Regions from separate parts of the Homo sapiens genome. Here region 1 is linked to region 2. Evidence: promoter capture Hi-C in 16 types of primary human blood cells and fetal thymus (Javierre and others, 2016). All regions are on one chromosome and are shown on one strand. Each heading gives the region's core, a stretch centred on a gene start or on the middle of the fragment in contact. The rest is flanking DNA. Distances are from core to core; before and after follow the strand shown. Region 1 holds the start of TNFRSF1A (TNF receptor superfamily member 1A). Region 2 overlaps CHD4 (chromodomain helicase DNA binding protein 4).

Region 1 (6,425 bases), core at 669-3,168, 260 kb after region 2:
CTGCTTCTTCAAGAACACTGCTTTGGGTTCGCTTCTCCTGTCCCTGGGGTCTCCCTTTGTGATGGTGGTGAGCTGCTTCCTTTCTGAATCCAGCTTCAACCCTACAGTTCTCCAGAAGCTGGACGATGGGGTGGAGTAAAGTCAGCTCCCCCCGCAGTGAGGGACACTGAAGCTCCATTCTCATCTGCGGATCACAGAGGGGAAGCCAGGAAGAGCCAGGGGACGGTGGACTTGGGGCTGGGAGGTCATCTCAGAGGGATAAGGGGTGAGGAGCTCTGGTTTCAAGTTCCAAAGCCCTAGGACCTCCCTCTTCTCTGTCTGCCTGCATTTCTAGCAGCCTCAGCAGCTGCAGGCCCTTGGGCGGGGCTGGATGTAGGGAAGGTCATTGTACCAAGAAGATAGTTGGGTAAATGTGGTACCTTTGTTGTAGGATTCTCTTGGGAGATGTCTGCATCAATGAGGATGGCATAAAGTAACCAGAGTCAGGATGTGGGGTCTGACTCAGTGACAGAAAAAGTGGCAGTGTGTCTCTCATAGCCAAAGGGGCCCTTGGACCGGCAGTCGGGAGTCTGGGGTTCTCTGTTGGCTCTGCCTCCTGGCACATTGGGTTTCTGGACCTCAGTTTTCTCCTCTATAAAACCGGGCAGTTGGGTGGGCACGGTGGCTCACACCTGTAATCCTAGCACTTTAGGAGGCTGAGGTGGGCAGATCATTTGGGCCCAGGAGTTCAAGACCTGCCTGTGTAACATGGTGAGACCCTGTCTCTACAAAAAATACAAAAATTACCCAGGCGTGGTGGTATGCACCTATAGTCCCAGCTGCTTGGGAGGCTGAGGTGGGAGGATTACTTGAACCTGGGAGGTCGAGGCTGCAGTGAGCTGCGATGGTACCACTGCACTCCAGCCTGGGAAACGGAGCGGACCCTCAAAACAAAAACAAAAATGAAAAACAAGCAAACGAAGAAATAAAAAAACCTAGGGGGTTGTAGTCGATGATCTGTAAGGTGAGTTATAATTGATGTATTGGAATATTTAGGAAAAGGGCACTGGGAATATGCTAGGAACACCTGATGGAGGTATCTTTATTTCCACGGCAGCTTCGTGGATACGTCTCATTGATTCTCATGGCATCACTTTCCCCATGTAGGTGGGCAGACATTGTTACCCCTGTTTAATAAACAAGGAACCAACAGAGGCTTAGGAGAGGAGTTGCCTGATGTCGCATGATTGGTGGCAGAGCCAGGATCAACAGTGGGGCAGGGTGGGGGGACCTGGCCAGGCAGAGACTGGATGAGACCTGGGGTGAGGAATGGCAGGCACCCAGTCAGGGCAGAAAACGAGGGTTGGGACTTACTTTGAGTTTTGGATTGGATCAGTAAATTCCCAAGAAAGAGGGAGACTAGGAGGCTAGTGAAGAACTCTGGAGTAAAGGGGAGGATTACTAAGGGACATGGAGTACCTATCATGTGTCGGACGCTTATCTATATCTCTCCCATCTGAACAAATCCTTACAGGAACCCCAGGAGACAGGTTATCTCCACTCTGCAAATTGGAAAACAGATCCAGACAGTTTCAGTTATGTGTCTGAGAAGTTCATTTATGTGTCCAAGACACATTCTTAGCTAAAAAGCTAAGCATTCTGAATTGGAACCCAGAGAATTTGACTCCCAGACTCTGGATCTTTTCACTGCTGTGATCCATCTGGGAAAGGCTAGTGATGTGGGCAAGGGGCTTATTGCCCCTTGGTGTTTGGTTGGGAGTGGTCGGATTGGTGGGTTGGGGGCACAAGGCAGCCAGATCTGGGACTCCTGTGCTTGTGACTGGACTACAAAGAGTTAAAGAACGTTGGGCCTCCTCCTCCCGCCTCCTGTGGCCTCCTCCTCCAGCTCTTCCTGTCCCGCTGTTGCAACACTGCCTCACTCTTCCCCTCCCACCTTCTCTCCCCTCCTCTCTGCTTTAATTTTCTCAGAATTCTCTGGACTGAGGCTCCAGTTCTGGCCTTTGGGGTTCAAGATCACTGGGACCAGGCCGTGATCTCTATGCCCGAGTCTCAACCCTCAACTGTCACCCCAAGGCACTTGGGACGTCCTGGACAGACCGAGTCCCGGGAAGCCCCAGCACTGCCGCTGCCACACTGCCCTGAGCCCAAATGGGGGAGTGAGAGGCCATAGCTGTCTGGCATGGGCCTCTCCACCGTGCCTGACCTGCTGCTGCCACTGGTGAGACCAGGGACAAAGGGAAGAGTGGGCTGGTGGGCGAGGCACCTTCCGGCTGGCGTGGGCCCTCTCCGGGAGGGGGCCGAGCCTCTCCTGCCCGGGCCTGGTCCTGGCGCCAGCCTCAGGCCTGCAGGTCCTAACCTCAGCCACTGCCAGTGTGGGGTTCCCCATTCATCCGCCTTTTGGAGTAGGGGCTGCGCTGAGGCAGGGGAATGGGAGAAGTTTGAAAGGGAGAGAGTAAAAGGAAGCCCTGGCCCCTGACAGCGGTGGAAGTTTGTGGGCGGCCAAGGGAATGTGGGCAGGAGATAGGCCCAGGGTGGGGCAGATTTGGCGGGGAAAAGAAGGGAGTGGGAGTAGGAAGATTAGTGCTCGGGGAGTCCAGACGGTTCTGAATTCTGTCCCTCCGGTCAGCTGGCTGGCCTGGAGGGTGTTGGGCCGTGGGGAGGCGAGGCTGCCTGTGGAACTTGGTGGAGCACACCCTGTAGGGCAGGATTTTGGCGGCTGGTGAAGTGGGGGAGTGAGTTGAGGAGTGGGGATGGGCTGGTGTGGTGGGTTTGGGATGCTCATGGTGGGAGGTATTTGAGAATGGGCTGGGACACTGGATGGGGCAGGGCAACCCAGTGGACAGTGTCCCCAGTGCCCTGGCCAAGCCCCGGCCTCTCACCTGGGGACATTCTTTACCCTTTTGCCTGCTGCTAGGCAGGTAGCCGCTGTGGGACTGAGCCTTCCCAGGGAGCTAGTCCTACCCCCACCTGGTCAGTGTCCCTGGGCCTGTCCTCCAGCTTCCCCTCCCCGCTGCTTCTCACAGACCTAAACAACAATCCCTTGGTTTCTTATTCTACAGTTCAGTTTGGGGAAGTTGGTAGAAAGTTGTTTTCGTCACTGGAAAATGTCCCTTTCTCTGGCCTCAGCCTTGTTTCAATGTATCCTTGATCGTCCTCCACGTCTTGGTCCGGGAATCATCCTGTTCAGATGTCCTGGGCCCATCTAGTCAGGCAGATTTTCCCTGCCCTGCCCGGCCTCTGAAGGCTGCGCCTACCTCCCCTCTCTTTAGTGCCTTATACTCTTCCTCTCCTACCATTCCTTTCTTCCAGCAATCTCCCCAGACTCTCCTCAGACTTCTCAGAGCCTCTTTTTTTGAAATCTTTTCTCGCTAATCCTCCTTCCCCTCCTCTCTGCTCCGCTCTGGTCCCGGCCCCAGGTCCCCAGGCAGCACGTCTCTGGTCAGGGTCTCACTCTTCTTCTTCTGCCTCCTCCTGCCTCCTTAGTCCCACCCGCTCTTCCCTTCTTCCCACTGTCCTTCCCCCACGGTCTCCCCACCAGCCAGCTGCCCTGACATCCTGCTTCTGTTTTCTGTTTGGGGGCGGCCCCTGGCTCCCTCACATACCTCCTGCATGAACAAGAGCAGCTTATATAACCTAACCTTCCATGCCTTCGTTTCTTTATCTCCAAAATGGGTGTCACAGTCTTGACCTCATACTGTTGTTTTGAAGATTGAATAGACTGATACATGTTAAGTGTTCATTTGATTTATTAAGTGTGCGCTCTGGGCTAGACACTGTGATAGGTGCTGGGATTACAGCAGAGAACAAAATCCCTGCCCACAGCTTTGACAGTCCATCAGGGGAATAGGTTGTAGCAAATAGAAAGCACTCAATAAAGTTTTTATATTGCTGTGACTAGTAGTAATTACTGGGTGGCTACCTGTGTTGGGAAAACAGAGGGTAAAGGTAGCCTGAACAGGTAAAGGGAAGTGCCTGCGTCCTGGGGTGCTTCAGCCCAGGTGGGATTATGTCTCCTAAGGGACAGAAGCCTGGCCTGGAGCTGGAGGAAAGGGAAAACAAAGGGAATGCAACATCCTTCTGAATTTCTCACCATTCAGTGGGCAATGCAGAGCTCACAGTGTGTGTGTGTGTGTGTGTGTGTGTGTGTGTGTGAGAGAGAGAGAGAGAGAGAGAGAGAAGTGGGGTAGGGGAGTAGGGAAGAATGATACAGGAGAGACTGTGGCAAAGCAAACAGGATTTTGCTGCTCTCAAAGAGCTTACAGCCTAGTAACCAAGATGGCTTACAGTGAAAAATGATTTCAGAGCAATCCCGAGGAAAATATCCACAAATGCATTGTGATGTGGTGTCCTGGAGCACCAGTTGGGAGGAGGAGGAACTGGGGAAGGAGGTGAGCCTTAGTCCACTGCCTTTCCTTGCTTAGCAGGTCTCAGCTCCTGCGCTCAGCTCCAGAAAATTCAGGAGCTTCCCCACGCTGCTTCAGTGTCCTTCACTGTGCAACTGCAGCACTCCCTGTATAGATCTCAGTGCCTACAACTGACTGTCTTTGACTCAAGTGAGAGCTCTTGAGAGCACGAGCTGTGTATTATCCACCTCAGCATCCCTAGCACCCATACGGGACCTGTCACATTAACTGTGCCCCTTAACTATTTGCTGAAGGAATTAAGGAACAAGAGATGTGTCAGATGGGATGGCGGAGGGAAAGCCTCATAGAAAAGTGGATGTGGAGCTGACATCTGAAGTCACTGCCTGTCAGGGTAGCTATAAAGGAGGGAAGCAGAGTTGGATACTGATGTGAGGAAGAGGAGAGGAATGGAGAGATGGGATTTTGTGTTGATGGGCAGGGTGGCAGGAAGCCAGACACCTTGGTTCGGGAGTGGAAAAACCATGTTGAGAAACACTAAGAAATGTGAATGGGAGAATTAGAGGGAGTGGGGGAGAGGATGGAGGAAGAGTGTTGAATATGGTTCCAGGTGGAGGAATTCATTCATTCGTTTATTCAGAAGCTGTTCTCCTAGGGCACATTCTGTGCCCAGACTGTGATTAGAAGTGAGGTGAGGCATCTCAGATGGGTGCTGTGGTTCATGCCTGTAATTCCAGCACTTCAGGAGGCCGAGGTGTGTGGATTGCTTGAGTCCAGGAGTTCGAGACCAGCCTGGGCAACACAGCAAAACCCTGTCTCTACAAAAAATACAAAGATTAGCGGGGCATGGTGGGGCGTGCTTGTCATCCCAGCTATTCGGGAGACTGAGCTCGGGAGGACGGCTTGGGCCCAGGAGGTGGAGGTTGTAGTGAGCCCTGACCACACCACTACATTCCGTCCTGGTGGTGAAGGTTGCAGTGAGCTATGATTGTGCCACTGCACTTCACCCTGGGTGACAGAGTGAGACCCTGTTTCAAAAAAAAAAAAAAAAAAGTAGTGAGGCATCTGTGGAAGTCTTCAGATCATTTCCATGACCATGGAAATGCTGTTTGGAGCCAGGCCCTGGAGATGGAGAGGAAGGTTCACACACTTGTGCGTGCAAGTTAAAGCCTGAATGAAGATTTAAAAAGTGTGTAGGACGGATGGGAGCAGGAGAGAGGCTAGAAGACACTTGCAATAACCCAGGTGTGAGGCAACCCAGGAATGCGGAGAGGACCGAGAGATCACAGGGGGAGGCCTCGCAAGATGAACTGACACATGGGATGGCGGCAGGGATAGGGATGGGGCCCTGGGGAGAGAGCGTGGCAAGTTCTCAGCATTCGTCCGGGAAGTCGATGGTGTGTCATTTGTCTAGGTGAGGAGATGGATGAATTCCGTCTGGGGCATGTTAAGGGTCAGGGAAATGGTCATGTGGAAGGGTGCGCCTACCAAGCTGGAGGAGAGGTGCTGCAACTTCTTTCTGCCTTTGTATCATTCAGACACACTGTGTTCACTCATCAGTGGTTCTCAAAAGGAGAGGAGCACACCAGACTCTTAAGTAAGGGTGTGTGTGCTTGTGTGTGGGGAGGTGGGGGGATGGTCTGAAAACTCTCCCCCGGAGATAAATATATTCCTACCAGGGGTGCTGTCTCCTCACCTCCCTCTTTGGGAATCACTGGCTTCTACTAGAGTGGAAGACAGATGTATCATTAGATCGATCAGTTGATCCATATTTATCTGCTCCCAGTCTGGAGGTCTGGTTCTGGGAGCTGAGAGGACACCAGGGGAGGATAAGACACTTTCTGACCAAGACATTTTTTGATCTCTCATCTTATAAGGTTCGTGGTCACTTTGGGGAGATCATATCTGTCACCCAACATAACCATATTATGATAAGAGCCAAAAGTAGATAGGGTCAGTTCACGTGCTTCGAGTTCACAGGGACTATGGGTCTAAGGAGCCGGGGTGGAGGAAACAGACATCGTCAATGGTGGCTTCACGGGAGGGAGATGGGATCTCAACTGG
Region 2 (5,821 bases), core at 172-2,671:
GCCCTGAGAAAGGTATTCTCCTTCATCCTATAGTGTTGGGATACTTTTGTCCTGGGAAAATATAGGACTAACTTCAAACTGAGGAGTTGATGTTTTGCCAGCTCTCTTAAGAGGAGATGAAGCAATGTTCTTCTAGCTGAGAACATTTGTCCCTGTGTTGACACCCTGCCTCAGGGTCTTGGTAGCTTACAATGTTTTCAATTTTTTTGTTAAAAAAATTTTTTTTTTTGGAGACAGGGTCTCATTCTGTCATCCGGGCTAGAGTGCAGTGGTGCAGTCATAGCTCATTGCAGCCTCCAACTCTTGGGCTCAAGTGATCCTCCTATCTCAACCTCTTGCTGAGTAGCTAGGAGTACTGGTGCATGCCACCACATCCAGCTAATTAAAAAAAAAAAATCTCTGTTGAGACAGGGTCTCACTATGTTGCCCAGGCTGGTCTTGAATTCCTGGTCTGAAACCATTCTGCTCCCTTGTCCTCATTAAGTGCTGGCATTACAGGTGTTTACCACCATGCCAGCCAGTTTAGAATGTTTAATAGGGCCACTTACTGCTTTAGATTGCTTAAGGGAGGAATTCTGTGCTCTAAGTCTGTTGATTTCCTGATTGTTCTGGCTTATTGTTAAAGTCTAACTACTGGCTCTGTTAAGCAGATAGGAGTGATGGTGGCACGCAAATCCTGGACGATGTCCAGAAATGGAGAGGGAATTCTATTACAGGTTGAGCACCCTAATCCAAAAATGTGAAATCCAAAATACTTCTGGTCCCAAGCATTTCACATGAGGGGTCCTCAACCTGTATTTTCTCCCTGGAGGAGTCCTGGGATTAGATTTTATTTGAAATGAGATCTTTTTTTATTTTTTTGAGATGGAGTCTTGCTCTGTCCCCCAGGCTGGAGTGCAGTGGGGCAATCTTGGCTCACTGCAAGCTCTGCCTCCCAGGTTCAAGTGATTCTCCTGCCTCAGACTCCCAAGTAGCTGGGACTACAGGCGCATGCCACCACGCCCAGCTAATTTTTGTATTTTTAGTAGAGACGGGGTTTCACCATGTTAGCTAGGATGGTCTCGATCTCTTGACCTCGTGATCTGCCCGCCTCGGCCTCCCAAGGTGCTGGGATTTCAGGCATGAGCCACTGCTCCAGGTCTGAAATGAGATCTGAATCGTCCTTTGATGAAGTTGAGACTGTGGGCTGTCCCTTCTCCTCCCATGGTTATGATTTGAGATTAAGTTGTCTCTTTTTCTCTCAGTGTCCAGCTCTGAAGGGCAAAGTGCAGAAGATCCTAATCTGGAAGTGGGGTCAGCCACCATCTCCCACACCAGTGCCTCGGCCTCCAGATGCTGATCCCAACACGCCCTCCCCAAAGCCCTTGGAGGGGCGGCCAGAGCGGCAGTTCTTTGTGAAATGGCAAGGCATGTCTTACTGGCACTGCTCCTGGGTTTCTGAACTGCAGGTAAGTTTAGGATAGTCTGGAGATGTAGGGGCTACGATGAAGAGGATAGTGACAAAAGAGCCTTGTGGATAGAAGGAATGAACACAGCTTCTTGGTGGCTGATTTTCTCTTTCCGCTCAAAGCTGGAGCTGCACTGTCAGGTGATGTTCCGAAACTATCAGCGGAAGAATGATATGGATGAGCCACCTTCTGGGGACTTTGGTGGTGATGAAGAGAAAAGCCGAAAGCGAAAGAACAAGGACCCTAAATTTGCAGAGATGGAGGAACGCTTCTATCGCTATGGGATAAAACCCGAGTGGATGATGATCCACCGAATCCTCAACCACAGGTACCAGCTGAGCACACGGGAGACGGGCAGTCTCCGTGGGAGAGTCCTGCTAAAGAGATTGGGAAAATGGCTGTCACCAGTAACTTAGACTTGGAAGACACTGGTTTTTTTTGTTTGTTTTTTGTTTTTGAGACAGAGTCTCACTCTGTGCCCAGGCTGGAGTGCAGTGGCGTGATCTCGGCTCACTGCAACCTCTGCCTCCCAGATTCAAGTGATTATCCTGCCTCAGCCTCCTGAGAAGCTGGGACTACAGGCGCAAGCCACCATGCCCAGCTAATTTTTTGTATTTTTAGTAGAGACAGGGTTTTCATTCTGCTGGCCAGGCTGGTCTTGAACTCCTGACCTCAGGTGATCTGCCTGCCTTGGCCTCCCTAAGTGCTAGGATTAACAGGCGTGAGCCACCACGCTCAGCCTTATATATTTATTTTGAGACAAATTTTAGCTGTGTTGCCCAGGCTTGAGTGCAGTGTCGTGATCACTGCTCATAGCTGTCCCAAACTCCTGGGCTCAAGCAATCTGTCTGCTTCAGCTTCCCAAAGTGTTAGGATTACAGGCGTGAGCTACTGCGCCTGACACTTCATGTTATTATCTTTATTTATTTATTTTATTATTATTGTTTTTTTTTGAGACAGACTTGTCACCCAGGCTGGAGTGCAGTGGCGTGATCTTGGCTCACTGCAAGCTCTGCCTCCTGGGTTCACGCCATTTTCCTGCCTCAGCCTCCCGAGTAGCTGGGACTACAGGCCATCGCCACCATGCCTGGCTAATTTTTTTTTTTTTGTATTTTTAGTAGAGACGGGATTTCACTGTGTTAGCCAGGATGGTCTTGATCGCCTGACCTTGTGATCCGCTCACCTCCTCCTTCCAAAGTGCTGGGATTACAGGCGTGAGCCGCCGCACTCGGCCTATTTATTTATTTATTTATTATATTTTTTGAGACAGAGTCTTGCTCTGTGGCCCAGCCTGGAGTGCAGTGGTATGATCTAAGCTCACTGCAACCTCCGCCTCTCAGGCTCAAGTGATTCTCTGCCTCAGCCTCCAGAGTAGCTGGGATTACAGGCGTGTGCCACCACGCCTGCCTAATTTTTTTTTTTGAAATGGAGTCTCGTTCTGTCGCCCAGGCTGGAGTGCAGTGGCGCAATCTCAGCTTGCTGCAACCTCCGCCGCCCGGGTTCAAGCAATTCTCCTGCTTCAGCTTCCCGAGTAGCTGGGATTACAGGCACCTGCCACCATGCCCGGCTAATTTTTGCATTTTTAGTAGAGACGGGGTTTCTCCATGCTGGCCAGACTGGTCTTGAACTCCCGACCTCAGGTGATCCGCCTGCCTTGGCCTCCCAAAGTGCTGGGATTATAGGCGTGAGCCACCGCGCCCGGCCTGATGCCTGGCTAATTTTTTTTTTTTTTTTTAGTAGAGACGGGTTTCGCCATGTTGGCCTGGCTGGTCTTGAGCTCCTGGCCTCAAGCGATCTGCCTGCCTCAGCTTCCCAAAGTGCTGGGATTACAGGCGTGAGCCACTGCACCCGGCCAACACTCTATGTTAATTATTAACTGACTGAATTCTGGTGTTTGAGCTCTAGGAAAGTATAAATTAGAGATAATTTTTGGTCAGAGACTGGTACAGTAGAGGCTCTGAAAACGTGTGATCTGTGGCATACCTAGAGGTCTGGTGTGAAACAAACGGTATTGCCAGTTTTTGAGAGGAAGTGAGGAGGGTTGCCTTTTCTGGCTCTGAGGGTTTTCTCTCCTGGACTTGCAGTGTGGACAAGAAGGGCCACGTCCACTACTTGATCAAGTGGCGGGACTTACCTTACGATCAGGCTTCTTGGGAGAGTGAGGATGTGGAGATCCAGGATTACGACCTGTTCAAGCAGAGCTATTGGAATCACAGGTGAGTGATTTTGGGTGAGGCATAGAGTTGTTTCTTTTTTTTTTTTTTTGAGATGGAGTCTTGCTCTGTCACCAAGCTGTAGTGCAGTGGCGTGATCTTGACTCACTGCAACCTCCGACTTCCTGGTTCAAACGATTCTCCTGCCTTAGCCTCCTGAGTAGCTGGGATTATTTGCATACGCCACCACACCTAGCTGATTTTTTTTTTTTTTTTTTTTGAGACGAAGTCTTGCTCTTGTCCCCCAGGCTGGAGTGCAATGGTGCGATCTTGGCTCGCTGCAGCCTCCGCCTCCTGGGTTCAAGCAATTCTCCTGCCTCAGTCTCCCGAGTAGCTGAGATTACAGGCGTCTGCCACCATGCCCAGCTAATTTTTGTATTTTTAGTAGAGACGGGGTTTCACCATGTTGACCAGGCTGGTCTCGATCTCCTGACCTCAGGTGATCCGCCCGTCTCAGCCTCCCAAAGTGCTGGCCTCCCAAAATGCTGGGATTACAGGTGTGAGCCACTGTGCCTGGCCAAGTTGTTTCTTCTATAGAAAAGGATTTTGGGCAGCTGTGTGATGTCTTTCTTCTTTAGGGAGTTAATGAGGGGTGAGGAAGGCCGACCAGGCAAGAAGCTCAAGAAGGTGAAGCTTCGGAAGTTGGAGAGGCCTCCAGAAACGCCAACAGTTGATGTGAGTGGGGGTGGAAGGGACTGTAGTTTGTTGGGTAGGACAATGTATCTTTGCTGCAGTCTAATGATGGTACTCTTAAGTAATGAAATGCAGATAGTAACTTTGTAGCTGAGATTACTTCACAAAGTCGGCTTCCCCACTTCTCCACATCTCTATATATCAGAAAGCACTAGGATTACTTTCTTCTTTTGTCATCAGAAAAAAAAAAAGGAGGTATATTTTGAATGATTGAAGAAGTGTTGTCTGGGGGGAGGGGCCACATAGCCTAGCTTTTATGCACTTACATAGGAATCTGGCTTAATTCAGGCTCAGTTCCTCTGGGTTTTGTTTGTACAGTGTAATTTGAGGGTGATTAAAGTTAAAAAGATGAATCTAAGAGGGACATAACGATTATTTACCTGGTGGATCCTGACTAGTAGAATTATTGTATTGGTAGGGAGTCTGTGACGTGCTTTTCCTCAGTGATCTGTAGGATCAAAATCAGGTCTGGTTAAGCCCTGTTTCCTGGAGGACCCTAAACTGAACATGAAATTGCAGTAATCATAGGGGATCTCTTCCCTCCGAATTTTCCGGAGCTCTTCCCCAAGAGGATCCGTGAAGACTAGTGAGGAGGAAGCAGCTGCTCTATTAGGGGAGGAGGGGAGTTCCTTGCCAGCTCTTGACTTCTCTGTTTCATCCTTCAGCCAACAGTGAAGTATGAGCGACAGCCAGAGTACCTGGATGCTACAGGTGGAACCCTGCACCCCTATCAAATGGAGGGCCTGAATTGGTTGCGCTTCTCCTGGGCTCAGGGCACTGACACCATCTTGGCTGATGAGATGGGCCTTGGGAAAACTGTACAGACAGCAGTCTTCCTGTATTCCCTTTACAAGGAGGTAAGGAAATCTGGGGTGGATAGTTTTTTGTGTGGGTGTTTTGTGTTTGAAGCCTTAACTTACACTGAGTAGAGAGATAAGGGAATAAAAAAATTGGTCTCTGACCTTCAAGAACACTGTGGATAATAGATAAACACATGTACACATGTGTTTAGTAGATAGTAGATAAATGTGATAGTGGATAAACACATGTACACAGCGGAAGATTTGAGGGCATGGAGCCCTGGGTAGGATTAGCAGTGGATCCATAGAGTATCAGTTCTAGGGGAATGATTGTGTGTTGAGGGAAGTAGAATTATGAGTAGAATTAGTATGGAAAGGCTTGGCTGGACGCAGTGGCTCATACCTGTAATCCCAGCACTTTGGAAGCCCGAGGTTGGTGGATCACCTGAGGTCAGGAGTTCGAGACCAGCCTGACCAACATGGCGAAACCCCGTCTCTACTAAAAATACAAAATTAGCCGGATGTGGTGGTGCACGCCTGTAATCCCAGCTACTTGGGAGGCTGAGGCAGGAGAATCGCTTGAACCCGGGAGGTGGAGGTTGCAGTGAGCTGAGATTGCGCCATTGCACTCCAGCCTGGGCAACAAGAGTGAAACTCCGTCTCAGAA

Evidence for each region. Contacts are between HindIII fragments. The CHiCAGO score rates a contact against its expected background, and 5 or more counts as called.
Region 1: the fragment with the promoter of TNFRSF1A here is called in contact with a fragment that was not itself captured in region 2 in 4 of 17 cell types (naive CD8 T cells, naive CD4 T cells, non-activated CD4 T cells and 1 more); the score reaches 6.9 in naive CD8 T cells.

What each region holds. Positions count from the first base shown.
Region 1 is chr12:6,337,569-6,343,993 of GRCh38, reverse strand. TNFRSF1A (TNF receptor superfamily member 1A) reads left to right here and starts at 1,918. Exons shown (of 10, transcript NM_001065.4): 1 at 1,918-2,218. The coding sequence starts at 2,180. RefSeq lists enhancers at 2,016-2,115, 6,190-6,425. The HindIII fragment of the contact is 11,725 bases long and covers 1-6,425 here.
Region 2 is chr12:6,593,849-6,599,669 of GRCh38, reverse strand. CHD4 (chromodomain helicase DNA binding protein 4) reads left to right here. Exons shown (of 40, transcript NM_001273.5): 11 at 1,245-1,448; 12 at 1,571-1,776; 13 at 3,533-3,664; 14 at 4,240-4,336; 15 at 5,020-5,211. Among named protein-coding and RNA genes, the nearest start is that of CHD4, 11 kb to the left of the region's middle. RefSeq lists enhancers at 2,478-2,977, 2,978-3,479. The HindIII fragment of the contact is 5,750 bases long and covers 1-4,296 here.